Linked DNA regions of Homo sapiens: region 2 is linked to region 1. The links are contacts of gene promoters, found by promoter capture Hi-C in human tissues and cell types (Jung and others, 2019). All regions are on one chromosome and are shown on one strand. The core of a region is centred on a gene start or on the middle of the fragment in contact, and the rest is flanking DNA. Distances in the headings are between cores, read along the strand shown.

Region 1 (4,961 bases), core at 1,171-3,670:
TAAGTTATCATCTCACATCATGTCTGCATCAGACTTTCTGGCTTTATCAAAAGGAAAGGTACAATTTTGCCAGGCTTCTGGAAACAGGGGAAGGAACTCCTGTACCCCCTGCCTGCATGTGTGTACCCTGGCAGGGCTGCCAGGCTGGTGTGGAGGGCACTGGAGTTGTGGTGGGGGGAAGCAGGAGGTCTGTTTGTGGCCATGGGAGCTGCTGCTAACAGCAGGAACCAGAAACGATCTCAGGCCATGAGGACAATTTCTGCAGCTGGCCAGGGACTGCCCTGTTCATCCCTGGAGTTATGCGACACAGAACTCTGAGGTCAGAGTCAGCCCAGGGCACGGGCCGTGCAGGCGATCCCCTGGCTGTGGAGATGAGGTCACAGGCTGGATGCTGGAGCAGTGTCAGGCTAGGAGTGGGCGTCCTGCCTAAGCCACCTGTTCACAGTGAGCAATCAGCTGGCGCCAAAGAAGAGGACTCACCTGGCCAGGTACCAGCCCACTCCAAGTAGGTAGCCTTGGTCTTAGGGGGTTGGGGGGGGCTTCATTCTGCCTGGAGCTCCCACCATCCTTGGCATTGGAGAGAGAGGAACCTGAGCCAGTATCCCCACCCCACCCCAAATTTCTGGCTCTTCGGCCTTTAGGGATGGAGAATGCGACCTCCCCCCTTCTGCCTGGCTGTTATTTCCCAGCTGGGTGGTGTCTCCAAGTTATCCAGCGGGTGGAAACCGCAGCTCAGCTAGTCCCTCTTGCCCGGTGCCCTATCACAGGAAAACAGGCGAGTCAGGGCAGTCAATGAGCCAAAGTCCAGGCCTCCTGGGAAGACACTGCCCGGAACCGTCCCTGCCTGCAAAGAGCTCTTCCTGCCAGGAACGGCCTGCCTGCCCACAGAGCTGGCCAAGTCGGGCACAGCAGATGGTGGAGCCCGGGTGTGGAAACCTGTTTCTCAGTACACAGGAGGTCCAGGAATAAGGCCCCAGGTGATGAAGCAGAGCCAGGATGCACCCACTGCCCTAGAGTGCGGAGGGAGGCGTGCACCTGGGCCCAAGCACGCACTATGTCCATCCTCCTGGCTCTGGCAGCTCCCATCTCCCCTTTAGCAAAGGAGGAGGCACAGGCATGGGGAGGCCCTGTTAGGAAATTTGGCTGTGTGGCTCCAAAGCCCATGATGGGCCCTCTCTGGCAGGTGCCTGAATTTTTAGGCCCCAGGACACCAGAACAGGGCACCGTCTTCATCTTAGGTCTTGACAAAAGACTCAACCTTCCCCAGAGGGAAGGCCGGATGGGGACTGAATCTACCTGCGGATCCACTTAACACTCGTACCTTTTTAAAAAAAATTTTTTTTATTTTTGAGATGGAGTCTCACTCTGTTGCCCAGGTTGGAGTGCAGTGGCGCAATCTCCACTCACCGCAACCTCCATCTCGCAGGTCCAAGCAATTCTCCTCCCTCAGCTTCCAGAGTAACTGGGATTACAGGCGCCCGCCACCACGCCTGGCTAATTTTTGTATTTTTAGTAGAGACGGGGTTTCACCATTTTGGCCAGGCTGGTCTCGAACTCCTGACCTCAGGTGATCCGCCTGCCTCGGCCTCCCAAAGTGCTGGGATTACAGGCATGAACCACCACCACGCCCTGCCAACACTCGTAGCTTTATCATCCCCTTTTACAGACAAGGACACCGATGCACAGAGTGGTTAAGTAACTTGCCCCAGATCACACAGCTCTAGGTGCCCCAGCCAGGCCCTGAATCCAGATCATGTCCATTGTACAGATAGGCCACTCGGTGCCTTGCTGGGCGCTGCGGGCTGTGGGCTGTTGTGTGTGCAATGGGGAGGCCAAGACCAGCCCAGCCCACCAGGCCGGACCCTCGAGTCAAATAAGAAACATGCAAAGATCCAAACGAAGAGCGAATTCATGGAATGAAGCGCAGCTGCATATGCAGCCAGGGTTCCAGCCCCCACGGCCACGTGGAAAGACTGGCTGGCCCGGGTCTTACAGCGCTGAGGGTCGGTCTTCCAGCGCCTTAGGGGCCAGGCGTCCCTCCAAGAAGGCGAGGAAGTAGGCGGAGCTTCTGCCGGCGGACTAATGACGGTACAGAGGCGGGGCCGAAGGGCGGGGACACGTGGAGGGGCGGGGCCATTGGGTAATGGGCGGGGATGCGAGTGGAGGGGCAAAACCATCAGGTAAAAGGACCAATAGAGGTTCAGGAGCGAGTGGGCGGGGCACGCTGTGGGGCGGGATCGGCGGGGGATAGACCAATGGTGGGTAAGAGGCGGGACAGAGGGCGGGGCGCGCGGGGGCTGGGCTGGCGGGAGGCGGGCCAATGGAGGCTCGGGGGCGGGGCCGGCGGGCGGACGGGCGGGGGTGCGGAGGGGGCGGCGGCGGCGGCGGCGAACAAAGAGGCGGCGGGCGCGGGCGGCCGAGCGGAGCCGAGCGCAGCCGAGCCGGGCCGAGCCGGGCCGGGCCGGGCCCAGGAGCGCGCGGATGATGCGGGCGGCCAGGCGGGGGTCGACGGGTCCCTGAAGCCCGCGCCCCGGGCCAGCAAGGGAGCCCCGCGCAGGCCGCGCGCATCCGGAGGCGGCCGGGCCCCGCCATGGCCGGGGTCAGCTACGCGGCGCCCTGGTGGGTGAGCCTCCTGCACCGGCTGCCCCACTTCGACCTGAGCTGGGAGGCCACTAGCAGCCAGTTCCGGCCCGAGGACACCGACTACCAGCAGGTGACATGGGCCTCTCGGGGTCGCGGGGTCAGGGACCCCAGGTCACGGCCCCCTCCTCTCCCAGGGTCACGGCCCCCATCCCCGAGGGCCTAAAGACCCCTCATCCCCCCCTCCAGGGTCACGGCCACCTCCTCCTCGCAGGTACCGGCCTCCTTCCTTCTCGAGGGTCCCTTCTGAGTCCTAGGACCCTTTCTTCCAGGGTCATGGCCTCCTCCTCAAAGGTCTAAATACCCTCCAACCCCCAGTGAGGGTCCACGGCCCCCCTCCCGATTCTGGCCTTCCCTTCTGGTGTCACTAAGGCCCCTGGGTTTCATGGAGCTGCCTCTCCCCACTCCGTGAGCCCCCTTGGCCAGTGGAGGGCCTCTCCACCATCACTGTTGGCGGCCTGGTGCTGTGTCCCAGCAGAGACCCCTCCCCAGATGACCCCCAGGCTCTGAGATCAGAGCGGGTGCCTGAGCACATTGGGTGCAGGCAGGCAGAGACTCCTCGCCCACTCACCCCCGACTGGGGAATCCCACTGCCAGGCTTCCAGTGGGTGAATGGCCTGGGCCGCCGCCAGCCCTCTGTGGCCGGTAATGACCCCCTGCTTGGCGGTCAGGCTGTGGGATGTACACAGGGTGCCGTGTGTGGCCGTGGGAGACCAGGCTGCCTGTAGCCCCCGGGGGAGGGAGGCCCGGCGGCCAGGAAGCACCGTGGGCCTCAGGCAGGGAGGCTGGAAGCGGCTGAGCCCAGGCAGACCTGGGGGGCGGCTGGGGGCCCTTTGCAGCCCTCTCCCAGGGGAGCCCTTAGCCTGGCATCATGCCAGGCCCCAGCACCACCCCCATCGCCAAGCTACTGTCATTTGAGTGCGGGGCAGGGGACCAAGCTGTGGGCATTTCCTTCCTGCCTAGAGATCCGGATTCCAGAAGCCCCGTGACCAGGGTCCCTGGTCACCCGGAGTTTCTCTCTGGACGGATCATGGCAGAGCCCCATGGTGGGGTGGGGATGGCTTTGCTTATCAAAATGGCTTGGGAATCCGGTATTCCGCGGGCAGCCTAGCACCTGGACTCTTCAGAACTGCGTTGTCTGTGGCCTCCCGCATCCAGAGGAGGGAGGCGGAAGTGGAGGAGCAGGGCACCTGGGAGCCCACTGCTCCCAGCCTCGCGCTCACTTGCACCCAGGCCCCCCAGCCGAGCCGATGACGTTTCCTAACAGATGAGGAAGGGGGCGAGGGATCGGCCCAGGCACGCCCAGACACAGCAGGGAGGAGGGAGGCGGAAGGATTGGTATAAAATCTCACGCCTGCGTTCTAGAAGCCCAGCCCTGGGGGACCGTTCAGTGTGGGGGCAATGCACATTCAGGAACTTCTGGAACTTATTCCATGCTGATGGCTTTGCCACTTGTCCCTGGAGGACTCTGTTGAAGCTGCAAGGAGGGTGTGCTTCACTTTGGAAAGTTCTCTGCCCTGAGGGTTTGGCCCATTTGTCAGTTCTTAAGCTCCGGGGCAGCCCTGGGGCGTGGGGGGCGGCTGTTTCCTGCTGCCCCTTGGGCTGCCACCTGCCCGAGCTGCCAGCCACAGTTGGACTTCCTTCCAGCCCTCCGGGGTGCCTGCATTCCCACATTCGAGACAGGCAGTGAGAGGGAGTGAGGGGCGATGATGTCTGCAGCCCACAAGAGCCTCCGGGCAGTAGCCAGGCCCCTCTGCTCAGCCTGACCTGCCTGGCCTCCAGCAGGGTGCTATGGCCCTGGGAGGCCCTGGCTTCTGCCCCCTTTCCTCCCCTGCCCTGCGCTCTGCTCTGCTGTGGGAGGGCTCTGACTCACTCTCTCTCCTGCCTCATCTCCACAGAGCAGAATTAGCCACTGAATAATTCACGATGTGGAAACCGGCCTGCCTCCATCCCCCGCCGCCTCCACTCCCGGCTCTTGGCGAGGGGCTGTGGCGTGAGCTGGTCCTGGCGTGCGTCCTGCCCCTGCCCTTCCAATACTGGTGCTTTTCGGCAACTGCTTGGTGTCTCTGAGCCTTCATTGCCTCATCCTGAATCTGGGCTGGCCGTGCCTCCTGTGTAGGGTCACCCCTGGGAGGCAAGGGCCAGGAGCCCCCTTCCTGGGAGAATGGGCAGTGGGTGGGCCTGGGCTGTGGCAGGCGCCCCTTCCTGCCTCCCCTGGTGAGGAGTTGCTGGCTGTAGTGGGGGGTGGACCCCTCACCCATCCTGACTGAGGGCTCCCTCTTAGCTGTCTCTGTGCTGCCCCAACCTGGGCTGTGCCCTGC
Region 2 (4,961 bases), core at 1,813-4,312, 1.3 Mb after region 1:
TTGTTGTTGGCTTGGGGCTTGGGGGTGATACTGAACCAATACTCATTCCTGCTTTGATACATTGTTTCCTGAGCCTTCTCATCTCTTCTCTGCGGCTTAGCTTTCATTATTTAACAAACATTTATTGAGTGCCCGTAATGTGCTGGCTTCTGTGATACACACAGAGAAAATTAACCCTGGAGTAACGTGCTGAGGGCTGCGGTACAGGAAAGCACAGAATGGGCCGTGCGCATAACCCGGATGAGCGCCTTGTGTCCCGCTCACTTTGCGCGTTGGGCTGCAAACAGTGAACACTCACTGAAGTTCTGTCATGGGATGGAAAATTCATTGCACAAATGCAAGTGGAAGCAGGGAGGGCAGGATTCTTGGGAATGACGCCAGATCCAGGAGACGATCAGCTTGGTCTCATTCCCCACCACGAACCTCGTGTCCCGACAGCGTCGACACATCCCTTCATACACGGCTGGCCAGATGCTCACCCGCAGTCCACTCAGCGGTCCACTCAGCTGCGTCCAGGATTGCTGGGTCATTTGGAAACTGCATAGAGATTCATAGGCAGCTTCCCCTAAAAAGGGTGATATTCTGATGCTTAGCCCATCTGGTACAGCCACCATTCATCTCTTCCTTCCTTCCTTTAAATATTCCGCAAGTACTCATCTCAACCTCTTCTCACACCTAAGCCTATCCTGATAATTGTCTTTTCCTCCAAATCCTCTTTAATATATTTTTCATGTCAAAGGGGAAATCATCTTCTTTTGTAAGAGAATACATGATAAATTTATTTTCCCTGTGTCTCCCGGATGTCTAGAGCGGGAGTCAGGAAAAGGAAGCATTTTTGGGGGGACTTAGGAGGAAAGAATTCATTTTTTTTTTTTTTTGGTACCTTAGAATACAGAGACAGTGATCCACATTAGAAAGGTATGGGTTGGACTCTCCTACTTCCCTAGGATGTTTCTTCTACCAGTGTGGGTGACACTGGAGTTGGGGTGGGCCATCAGGAGATGGAGGTGAGCCTGCCCCGGATGGCTGCCCCCTGCTCAAGTGAGCCAGGGTGGGAGGAGATGAGGAAGACAGCCCCTCTGGCTGTGCCTTTTGGCCCCCTTTTCTCTCAGTTGCCCTAAAAGTTATTTATTCCTGGAGTTGGCTTTAGAAATAAATAGGAAGTATCTTGGCATAAGTCAGAGAAGGGTCCAAGGCAGACCATCTTCAGACGCAGTGAGACCCTCATCCTCTACTCCATCATACACCTGTTTTCCATTACGGAGTTCTGCTGTCCTCTAGTTCAGCTCTGCTCTCCAGCAGGCTCTCTCGGGTGGTGACCAGATGGCCGCCAATAACTCCAGACTTAAATCCTGCCTGGGCTGCGGGGCGGACACCCCATCTACTGTGCAGGCACTGCTGTTGGCTCCTGTGGAGCAGCTGTGGAGCAGGGGTGGGTGGAGTAGCCTCTGCCCATCCTGAGGGACCTCCTCCGTCCTCCAGTTGTGGCCTCTGCTCAGGTTCATATGGCCACACAGCAACACTGTCTACCTTTTATGCTTCTGCTGATCCCTACCTCTCCCAAAGACAGTAAGCTCGGGAAAAGGGGACAGTGACGGTGTTAGTGACCCCACCACACCCACTACAGTGTTGAGCACTCATCACATGTGTGTCCGTGGAGCTGGCCTATATGCGCTCTCCAGTATGAGGCTGTATTATGTCTAAGGATACACAAATACACGGCTTTAAAGTAGGAATATTTTTTAATTTACTACAAAGAAGCTCAGGGATTAAAGAACCATCCGTCTCTTAATTCTCATGGTCGATGGCTTTATCTTTTTGCATAGCGTGCTTGCCTAAAGCGAGGCACCTCTTCATATATAAATCAGCCTTTTTTTGAATAAAAGTTAAATACAACAGGATGGAAATGCAGCTTTGAAAACCTATAATGAGCAGGAGGGATTATTATGCATCTACACCCCGGGGAAGTGAATATTTCATGTTAGAAAAAGTAGAGGCCAAGGGCAAGGTTCATTTAAAATGTATAAAGATAATAAAAGCGCTCATGGATGGAAAGGCCATCTGAAAGGACTGTTCACTTTTTGGAGAGGCTGATGTGGAATCATTGTGTTTCTTTGCAGGGGGAAAAAGAAAAAGTCCTGTGTGCGAATGGCCCCCTGCGTGGTGCTGCGTCAGCAGACAGGAGCATTATTTTCCCCTGGAATGTGCAGCGCTTGGTGCCTCTGTTCTCTCTGTAGTGCACAGAGCCAAGCAGAGAGAGAGGCTGAGCGTTTCAAAGAGAGACAAAACAAAAACAGATTATTCTGCTGTGCTGCCACATCACCACAGCACAATACTCTGTTCAAAATTGTCTCTTGTCAGGCACATTCTTCAAACAGTATTATGTGTACAAAGACTCTCTGTGTTGGAGAATTTGCATGTGTAGGGAAAATAGCTGCATAGTGCGGAATATTTCCTGAAGAGGCCAGATTTCTGTGTGTGTATGTGTGTGCCGGGCATCTGTGTCCTTAGCATTTTGGAAGGTGCCTGAGCTTTCGGAGGTCACCAAAAAGTACTGAGTCATCGTGCCATTCGGTTACCTTCGGCGCTACCATCCTAGTCTGAAGCTTTTACAGGCCTCTAAGAAGGTCTTCCTGAGACCCCAGTCTTGTTTTTTGCATAAGTACGCTGCCCAGGCTCCGGTGATTGACAGGTGTAGAATGGGACGTCCTCCTTTCCCAGTTGCATGATACATAGTGTTCAGTGTTAATTTCTGGAATTCAGGTCACTTGAAAGGCCAATTCTTGGGCCTTTCTGCCTGAATGGCTGATGATTCCTCTCCTTGCATCCCTCGTGATCAATTATCCAGAAAAACTGATTATTCAGATTGTTAAATCCCCAGTTAGTCCGGATAATCGGCATTCTGTTGTATCCCATAAATGTGGCCCACGCTGTGGAGCAGGGTGGGCCTCTTCCTGGGGCCCTGTGGCTCCTCTCTCCCCAAGCTCAGGCGTGCTGCTCTGTCTCCCGCTGCCTGCTCTTCTGGGCATTCCGCTCTCCTCCAGCGCCACTGATGCACAGCCTTTCCAAGAGGGTGGCCTTGCCTCTGGGTCAGCTCTCCATTTTGGGGGGACTAGGGTGGCCCGGCTGGAGGCCTCTGCAGTCTTTGTAACTGGGACAAAAGTTGAAAGGACACATAAAAAAAATTACAGATAAACCTGAAGGCACATGTGCTCACATGGCTGCTGTGGCTGTGGGATTGTTCCTTCTGCCTGTGAAATGGCTGAATTTAAAACCCATGCTTCTTTGTCCTCTAGATCCTGTACCCCCACTTTAGGAAGGGGCAGCAATCAGAATTAGGCAGCCTACTGTCTTTGTTGGGGGGCTGTAACAAAGTGCCATAGACAGAGTGGCTTGTCAGCAACAGAAACTTACTGCTCACAGTTCTGGAGGCTGTGAAGTCCAAGACCAAGGCACCAGCACATTCGGTGTCTGGTGAGGGCTCATTTCTTGGTTTGCTGTGTCCTCACATGGCGGAAAGGGCAGACGGGCTTCCTCAGGCTACCTGAGGAAGGGCACTAATCCCATTCACAAGGGCTCTGCCCTCCTGATCCATTCTCCTCCCCAGAGCTCCACCTCTTAATGCTATGACCTTGGGTAGCAGGTTTCAACATATGAATTTTGGGAGGACACATTCAAACCACATCACCTGCCCAAGGTCTTACAGCCGGTGGTAGCCCAGGCCAGCCATCTCTTTACTGTACCCATTTTGTCTCTAGTTCTGTATTAGGTGTTGGAGGAGGGAGGTCACACAGATGTGAAAATGAGTCAGCTGAACAAGGAGCAGGCCCTGCCCTGGAGGAGCTTAAGGGGAAATTATAAATTTCCCTCAGTAGTGAATCATGCTATAATCTAGTGCAGGGTGCAAATATGTGACCTGAGGGAGCTGGATAAAGTACTCACCTTGCTGTGGAGACGTTTGACTTGCACCTGGAAGGATGACTCAGAGCAGAGATGAGGTGGGGGAGGGCATTCTAGGGAAGGGGCCAACTTGAGCAAGAGCTTGTAGGTGCGGGGGCGTGCAGGGCAAGGGGGCCCTGTTCACTTAGAACAAAGGATCGGCCAAGGAAGTCTGGGAAACAAACCAAACTACAGAGGAGCTTGAGCAGAGTCGAAGTTTATTTTGTTCCCTCGTTGAAGGTTTAAAGCCGAGGAGCTACGTGATGAGCGCTGTGTTTTAGGAAGAGGACTCCGTAATAGAGAGGATGAGCCAGTGGATCCATTTCTAAATGTGTTTCTTAGGCTATAGGAGGAGGAGCTTTCTTTATTTATTCCAAAATTTGCTTTCAGATGCTAATGCGTGTATTGTGAACTCTGAGAAGAGAGAGTTCCAAAATGTATTTGACCACAAAACCTCTTTTTCACGGTAACTGGTGCACAGTAGGCACTCAGTGTTTTTGCATGACCAAATAAGCAAGTACAACACCAGCGTGCCACAGAGTGTGGTTCAAGAAACATTGCATTCTGTGAGGCGCTGAAGCAAGAAGAAAGGCCAGTGAGAGGCTTTGATATTTATCCGGGGAAGAGGTACTGATTGCTCAAGCTAAGCTTCAGTGGACTGAAGATAGGGAAGCCAACCACCCACAACTCCTCCAAATACCTCCCTCTCCCAGGCAGGCATGGCTGGGGCACCCGCTTCTGGGCTCTCCTGCCCCCTGGGCCCACCCCACGGATGGCTTTTCATGCATTTACTTATCATTCTCCTCTGGCAGAGACCGGCACGGTCTGGCCCGTGGGGGCTCAAGACAGTTGACAGAAGGAAGAGGAAGGAGACCTAAGGGACTTGGCAGCTGGGTGGAGAAGAAGACCCGATTTCTTTATTTATACATGGACTTGCTTGAAAAAGATTTCTAGTCCTTAACCAAAAAAAAGTGCAGTGACCTTTCCACTACGACATCTGTTCCCACGAGATGCAAGTCACA

What was found. The method cuts DNA at HindIII sites, captures the fragments that hold promoters and counts their contacts. A contact is called where the count stands out against the background at its distance.
Region 2: a contact is called between a fragment that was not itself captured here and the fragment with the promoter of TTYH3 in region 1, in 1 of the 25 tissues and cell types used here (dorsolateral prefrontal cortex).

Annotation. Positions count from the first base shown.
Region 1 is chr7:2,629,566-2,634,526 of GRCh38, forward strand. TTYH3 (tweety family member 3) reads left to right here and starts at 2,421. Exons shown (of 14, transcript NM_025250.3): 1 at 2,421-2,713. The coding sequence starts at 2,591. RefSeq lists enhancers at 1,846-2,577, 3,310-4,042, 3,822-3,931, 4,775-4,961 and a silencer at 2,362-2,771. The HindIII fragment of the contact is 13,143 bases long and covers 1-4,961 here.
Region 2 is chr7:3,907,967-3,912,927 of GRCh38, forward strand. The region is part of intron 5 of SDK1 (sidekick cell adhesion molecule 1); the gene reads left to right. Among named protein-coding and RNA genes, the nearest start is that of SDK1-AS1, 560 kb to the left of the region's middle. RefSeq lists an enhancer at 2,939-4,138. The HindIII fragment of the contact is 4,501 bases long and covers 813-4,961 here.